Linked DNA regions of Homo sapiens: region 2 is linked to region 1. Evidence: promoter capture Hi-C in human tissues and cell types (Jung and others, 2019). All regions are on one chromosome and are shown on one strand. The core of a region is centred on a gene start or on the middle of the fragment in contact, and the rest is flanking DNA. Distances in the headings are between cores, read along the strand shown.

Evidence for each region. Contacts are between HindIII fragments. The study calls those that stand out against the background at their distance.
Region 2: a contact is called between a fragment that was not itself captured here and the fragment with the promoter of ZBED5 in region 1, in 2 of the 25 tissues and cell types used here (dorsolateral prefrontal cortex and mesenchymal stem cells).

What each region holds. Positions count from the first base shown.
Region 1 is chr11:10,855,963-10,859,929 of GRCh38, reverse strand. It overlaps ZBED5 (zinc finger BED-type containing 5), which reads left to right and starts at 1,877. Exons shown (of 3, transcript NM_001143667.2): 1 at 1,877-2,068; 2 at 3,673-3,786. It overlaps ZBED5-AS1 (ZBED5 antisense RNA 1), which reads right to left and starts at 1,713. Exons shown (of 3, transcript NR_034137.1): 1 at 1,564-1,713. RefSeq lists enhancers at 405-1,040, 1,442-1,531, 1,041-1,678, 1,832-2,211. The HindIII fragment of the contact is 25,171 bases long and covers 1-3,967 here.
Region 2 is chr11:11,768,349-11,772,315 of GRCh38, reverse strand. No RefSeq gene overlaps it. Among named protein-coding and RNA genes, the nearest start is that of MIR8070, 13 kb to the left of the region's middle. The HindIII fragment of the contact is 5,196 bases long and covers 1-3,967 here.

The DNA.
Region 1 (3,967 bases), core at 628-3,127:
ATTGGTTTGGGAGCCCATGGCAAGGACAGGAAAATCAAACACATGTTCTCACTCATAGGTGGGAATAGAACAATGAGAACACCTGGACACAGGGTGGGGAACATCACACACCAGGGCCTGTCGTGGGGTGGGGGGAGGGGGGAGGGATAGCCCTAGGAGATATACCTAATGTAAATGACGAGTTAACGAGTGCAGCACACCAACATGGCACATGTATACATATGTAACAAACCTGCAAGTTGTGCACCCTAGAACTTAAAGTATAATAATAAAAAAAATAAAAAATAAAAAAAGATTGGTTTGGGAGCACATATGTAAAAGGTTTTTCTAAAATATGAAACACGAAAATATATTATTCCAATATTATTCTGAAGCCAGACAACTCCCGCAATGACAAAATCCCTTGCTCTTCAAGCGCGACTGTACCCCCTTCCCAAAAACGATTTATGCATTTATGGTTAAAGTTCAAATGAAGCTGATTTAATAGAAATAATTTAAAAATAATAATGAGAATATATGGACAGCTTACTATAGGGTGAGATGATGTTGTAATTGACTTTAAAACATTTGGAACTAAATGTCAGTCCTAGGAAATTATGCACTCCTGTAAATTGTGCTATTAAGGGTTAGGTTTCTTTCAACACTTTAGATATTTGATCAGAAGCATATTTAAGAAAAACGAAAGCTGCCCTTGCTTTTGACCCCAAGTTGAGAATTTTCTATCATTGGTGCAGTGCCTGAAAATACGATCCAATCTTCATTTAGTCATTTGTACGGAGTCTGGAAAGGCTAAAACATTGCAAATAATAGGACCTACTCGTACTTTCCCCGCTTAAGAAGCGTATCTATTTCAAGGTGCCTATTTGGAAAAACAGACTCCAGGTCTCCACCACAGAACTTAACACAAAATGAAAGCACACAACCCGCAGCCTTTGGCTGTGGTGTTTTTGAAAACAAGGAAGGGCACAGAACCATGGCTTAAAATACCCGAAAGCTGCAGCCCACAAAAAGAGTATTTCAGGGCGGGTTGGCCGTTCCCTGCAGGCAAACGTTCGGTGCAGGCGGCCGGGCGTTCCTGCGGGGAGGGCGCCACTGTGATGCAAAGACATCAAGCGGACTTTCAGCTTGCCCGTGGACGCTGCGGTGCCGCTTTCCCTATCCAGTCCTGTTCCCGCGGCTCCCCAGCCTACCCCGGGCCGACCAAGAGGTCCGGCGGGGTCTGCGCCGCATCAGCGCCCGCTCGTCAGGCCTAGCCCTCCGCACAGCCAAGGCCGACCAGACCTCTAGACACTCCGTCGTCGGGTGTGGGGCGGAGAAGTAAAGGGCGAGTTTTCTTCCTAGATTCCAGTGGGAACCAAGAAAAGGAGTTGGCAGCTGTGTAAACTGGACCTGGGGTGCGGCCTCCGGGAACAAAAGAGGTGATAAATGCACAGCAGCCGAGGTTCTGCGTGCTCCTTTGGGGCCACTACGAATCCCCGTGAATCACCCCAGCCCGGGCAGAGGGCCAGAAATGATGAAAATGCAGATTCATGGCTTCCACTCCAGCCCTACAAGATCACCAACCGTATCTGGCAGTACCCAGGAATCTGCATTCTCGACAAGCGTCCGCGCCGACGGGGCTAGTGAAGTTTGAGAACAATTGCTTCCTACCCAGCCGCTCCGCTATCACCTAGGTAGCACGGCCGCTGCGGCTGAGGCTGTGACTGCGGCTGCGGCTGGGCCGCGCCTCAACCGAGCTTGGTCCTTTCCTTTGGTCCCGCCCCGCTGCTCAGCGCGGATTGGTGGCGGGACGCAAATCTGGCGCTGATTGGGCGGCGGCAGAGTCGCTCGTGAAGATTGTAGGGTTCGGGTGCTCTAGAGTGCTAAATTTATCTTCAGACCGGCGACCGCGCCAGCCGCGAATCGGATCTCTATGGAGATGGCCTAGGCGATATCCCTGAGCTGAGAGCATCACCCTGTCCCCGAATCCTTCTTTCCTCTCTGTTTTGTTTTTCATTCCCCTCCCTCTCTCCCCTCCCCCTCCAGTCCACGACGACTGGCTGTTGACCCTGTTCAGGCCTCGGTGAAGGTGAGAAGCAGAGCCGCCGCCGCGGCTAAGCGGTGCGCTCTGAAATGGCCGCTTCCTGGAACTGCCTAAGATGGCGGTCGCGGGCTCTGCTGTGGACCGCGGCGCTGCTGTGCAGCCCAGCCGCGGCAAAATCCGTTCTCTCCATCGCTGATGGAGATGAAATAGAGAGATGGTGTTGGGTGCTGAGACGTTTTCATGTGGTCGTTAGCGCAGGCGGCCGCCCGGGGACGCGAGAGAAGACCTGAGGCGAGGGTGGGCTGCGACTGGTAGGGAGCCCCCCAGTCGTGGCAATCTGTGGGCAGCGCGCACCTGTGACAGGGAGGAGCTGAGGGATAGTTGGCCCTGGCTGCACATCCAGGTGACCGTTTAAAAAAGCATTTAGGTGTTGGAAGGAGCATCTGTTCCCACCTTTTTGGCTGGCCTGCACTCAGATCCTGTCCTCCTGACCCTGAGGGTATTGTTCCCAGCCGGAACCGCCCGAAGATAGGGGAGAAAGGATTGTGATACTTGTCAGTTTAACCGGAAGGAGACTAAAGACGGAAGTTTTCCCCGCTCTTCAGGGAGTGGAAAGGAAACTTTACTCTCAAAGGAGTCCAGATTCTTTGTCCTCGAGAAATTCGGGGAAACACCTTCGAAGAGGTGGGGTTGAGGACCTTCTTTCTGAAAACAAAAGCTTCCTACTCTTCTGTGTCCTCTGGCAACGAGAGGGATCCTGATCTTTTACGTGAACCAGCAGCTCCACAGAGTTCTCCGTTGCAAAATCCAAAAGGAGACTGTGGAAGGAGAATCTGCTTTTTTGCTCCCAATAAGAAGCAGGGCTTTATGCTGTTGCTAGTATGAGACCCTCGACTTTCTGGCAGTTATAATCCATTGTTCATCCGTTTCGCTGCATAACCCAACTCCTAGTAACGAGATTTTTTAGTAGTTGGGGAATTAAAAGTATTCAGGAACACCCAAGTAATGGCTAGACACATGGGCTATGCAGTCAAACTTTTTGGGCTCTGAACTTGGTTTTTCACTTACAAGAGGTGTTAGCGAGATGTGTTAACCTGTGTCTGTTTATCTCTAAAGTGGGGTTATTAATAATCCTTGTGTCTTCATAGATGAGATAATCTATATGAGGGATTTAGCAGTAATTGGCATACAGTAAACAATCATCAGTCATTAGACATTGTTTACCTGAGGAGATTGGTCACTGGGGGGCTAAAAATGATTGTAGTGAAAGAACTGCTTCATGTAATAGTTCTATGTATAATTCCATTTTAGATTCAAGACCTAGTTTTAGAGACATTGATGAGGTTGTACTTTTAAAAATTAGGCTTAGTTTCAAGTTCTAGAAAGTGTGGTGGTGGTGTTGTTTTAACATGTTTCTATGAAGTCAGTAGGTGGGGGAACATCTCAAAGCATCTAAATTGCCAAGATATTGAACAGGATGAAAATGTTAGAATTTTTACTATGCTAGGCGTCTTCTCTTTCAGTCCAAGATCTGCATTGCAGTAAAGAATCATTTTCACTGCTTAGATCCAGAAAGAATAAACCCATCTTACGGGTTTATAGTTAGTTCTGCTTGTTACTGTATCTAATTTTAATTTTTCTCATTCTAGGCTTTTGGTTACTCCCCTTCCCACCCCATCCCTTAATTTTATTCTTTTGAAGAGTGCATTTCAAGCTGCCAAGGTGGAGAGAGGGATTACAGAAAGGAGAACACCTTATTTCAGGTATCTTATCCTCTACCCCTTAATAGGAGAACCATTTTGACTCAAGATCTAACATGAGAATACAAAACTTACTCTATAGCCAGGTTATAAAGTTTAAATCAAAAGTAGCTATATTTGGACAGACATAATTTGTATGCCTTGATTTATAGAGTTAATAGTATTCTTTAGCAATCCTTAGATT
Region 2 (3,967 bases), core at 700-3,199, 910 kb before region 1:
CCAAGTCTTCCATCTCTTTTTGAGTTCTCTCCACAAGACTGTGCTCCTCCAGGTGCCCACAGGTCTCCCGAGACTGCCTTCCTTGGGCATGACTGTTGCCATAACACAGTGACTGGTGAGAAGGAAGGAAACTCTCCCATCATCTCCAAGCCACGATTTGTATTGTGTATTGGTGTATTTTAGTGTATTTAATATGGAGCAACCCATTCTCTACCTCATGGTCCTGACAATATATGTCTCATATATCTGACAAGGTGTATCTCAGCTCAAATGTTGGTCTTTCTCGGAAAGTTTTCTTCCACTGTCCCAAATAAGCAGGAGTCCTTCTGCTGCTCCAGTAGCTCTGTCACATCTCTCTGATTCACTGGAATCATATTTATCTCAAATTGAAGTTACTGGAATGACTCCATTTCTATGAAGTGCCCAGAAAAGGCAAATTTATAGAGACTGAAAGTAGATTAGTGGTGGCCTGGGCTTGGGGGTGGGAACAGGGATTAACTGTAAATGGACCTGAGGGATTTTACCAGGGGGATGAAAATGTTCTAAAACTTATCTATAGTGATTGTTGTACCACTCAGTAAATTTACTAGAAGTCATTGAATTGTACACTGAAAATGAGTGAATTTTATGATATGTGAAACTTACCTTACTAAAGCTGTTAAAAAAAGAAATTACCCTGTTCATTTTCCTCTTTATTACTGTCTTACATTCTGGTTAGAATGTAAGCCTATGATGGCAGGGATCTTGTCTGTTTTATTCACCAATATGTCCCCAGCACCTAGAACAGCACCTGGCACATAAAAAGAGCTCAGCAAGTATTCAGAGAATGCATGAATAAATAAGCTAGCAATCTCTTGCCATTTTGTAAACACTCAGGATAAGCCTGTGAAAAGAGACATACTCAATACAGAATCAATAACAAACTTCAAATCTAAAAATCACACATTAAGGATAAAAGAAATCACGAACCCTCCATTCTCAATGGGTGCCAGATTGTTTGCTGTTGACTCAGCATTTTCTCTACCTCCTTCTACATCATCTTCATCATTACATCATCATTATAGAGAAATCTGCAATTACATTACCCAGAATTCCTTTACTGGATGGTTCCCTGTTAGATTCTGTAAACTCTTGTGAAAGTTGAAGCAGAAGCCATTATTCTCTGACAGCAATTGTGGGCAGATGGGAAGCGGGAGAAAGGAGAGGCTTGCAGAGCTGTCGGGTTAGTTCCTATGAATCATCTGCTTCAATGCTACAGGTAGCTGAGATTGTAGCTTTCCTGCAATATCTGAAGTTTGCAGCACCTCTGGCCCTAATCTTTGCTACCCAAGTCTTTCCAATGGTTATGGTTGTATAAGTGTGTAATTCCTTATATTAAAATCTTTCCTGTTTGGAAAACCTGGAGGGGGTCTGGTCTCTTTTTCTGATTAAACTCTAACTAATTCAATGGGTATAGAGTATAATTTTTAAGAACTCAGGGTTGAATGATGGTGAGGAGAAGGAAGGGAAGAGCTTCTTTGTGTCCTTTTCTAGGCTTCAGTTGGCCTTAGGAGGAACATTCTTAATCTCTGGACACCATGGATCTTGAGGAAATGAGACTCTTTTCCTATTCCCATCAGACTTCTGTCATCTCTTTCTCTTACTCCCTGTGCCATGGTCATTGTGAGTGGTTTCTTTCCTTTATTTTGTCTTCACCATCTTCCAGAAGCCCCCAGTGTACCTTTTCCCAGAGCACTGATTTATGGAACTTGGGCACCTTTCCTGCTTTTTCATTCTTGATAAAATCACCCAGTTGCCTGGTTACATCAAGGGAGTAGAGCTGACACTGGGCAAAATTCTCCAAAACAAGACACATCTAGCTTACTCACCAACCTTCCCAAACCTTCTGCCAGACAGTTATGGAGCCAAGAACTTGGATTTGCTGCCTAGAAAAAGACACTGTATAACCTGCTACTTTCCTTCAAATCATACCAAAGAAACGAATTTAGGCTAAGATCATCTTTAAATAATTATTCTGTCAGACTACACTGTCTTGGTTCAATTGGAGCCTGAACGACTGTGTTTCTGAACCTTCTGTAGAAACAGGCTGGGCAAAATCTGTAGGCTCTTTGCTACCTGTTTTGGCCTCACTCAGCTCCTCTTATCTGCAGATTTGGGACCTCATAAAGCCTCCAGCCATTCCTGATCAGGACATAGCTTACAACAGCAGCCTGGTGCCCATAACCTGGACAGCCTGGAGTGAAGTCACACTCCCAGACTTGATGTTCTAATGACAAGAATGAACTCTGACTATTTGAGTGCCCCACAGTCCTGGGACTTCCTGACTCAGGATGAGACTTTGCCAAACTGGGCATTTGCTACCATCTCTGCCCTGTGGTGGCCTGCTGATTATGTCTTGCATTATACTTTCTCTCTCTATGAATGGGTTCTAACTTGAACTCTATCTCTGTGGTTGGGACTTACACTCAGGTCAGTTTCTTTCTTCCATGCTGGGATGGTGGTGGGGAAGTGCTGAAATCTACTACCTGAACTCAGTCCTCTCAAGTTACTGGTTGAGGTCCTGCTAAGAATGAATGCATCACTTGAATTGGCATCACCTGCCTGTATGTATATACATCTCTCCAAATACCTGAGCTCTTCCCTTTTCAGTACTCCATCATCACCTGTCTTCTGTCTCCCACCCACTGCACCCTACCAGTAGCCTTGCCTTGCCTAAATCAGTGCAGAACAAACTGTACCTGTCAGACTTTGTGTCTTGAGCCATCCAGTTGTCTTTGCTGGAACCAGCCTCTTCAGCTGAGCTAGTTGAAATTCAATAAGCATTCATGGATCTTCTGTTATGTGCTAGGGGACAGAGAGCCAAGTATGCCTCAGTTCCTACTTCTAGGAGTCCACAGCATTGCCTAGAAAAATGTCCCTCTGCTGGCTGGTGCACATCACTCATGGCCCACTGTGTATCACATCTAAGTCCGTATTCCAGCGTGGCAGAATTTCTCACAGCTGGAGGCAAGACTGAATGCAATGTAGGATGAAATCTTCTTGTTAGTTCAGGCAGAAGCAACACTGGGGTTGAAATTCTCCAAGTAATATTTCCATTTGTCTGGGGGAAATCGATGGAGCTTTTCTGCTTACAAAGGTGGAGGGAGTTGGTCAGATCACTGGATAGTCATAGTCTGATAGAAATATGCAATAATGTTAATATAAGATTTATTCTATGTGTGCCGATAACTTAGGGACGGCCTTGAAGGCTGTGAATTTTTGATGGTTTGTTGCTTTAGGCAAAACCAGTGCGTAACCTAACAGTGATGACAATGATAATGATAAAGTTGGAAAGAAAGTTAAGAAAAAAAAAGGGCATTCATTGTGCTTCTGACACGTTCCAGTCCTTGTGGAAATGGAATCATCCAATACTAGGAGTATTTCCCATCTACAAATCTCAAAGACCCTGGGCATGGATAGGATGGTATTTCTTGTAAGGGATATTAGAAAGATTTTTAAAACCACCTCCAGCTTAAATTTTTCCTCTTACTTGGAAAAGCTATAAGCTTTTCATGCTATAAGCTGCCTTTCTTTACAGAACTATTAAATTATCCTTCAGATACAGTTAAATTTTATGGCCAAAATGTAGAAGATAAATTGGGAGGTAAACACATTACTGTATTCATTAAAACATGCACTCCATAAAACTGATTCTACTCTTCAAAAACATTTATTCCATCAGCACTGGGAATGGCTGAAAGTGATGGGGAGTACGTATTAGGAAAGGCTACCACATGGTAACACAAAATAAGGAGTTAATATATCCAGTTCTTGTTCTTTGTACTGAGATCCCTCAGTTTCTCTACAGGGATTGACCAAGCTAATGATGTGTAAGAGATGCCACTGGTTGACATAGACACAAAGTGTCCTGGACACCTCTGAAGGAAGGCATGCTAATTTGAACAGATCCTTTCACCATCAAGCTTAA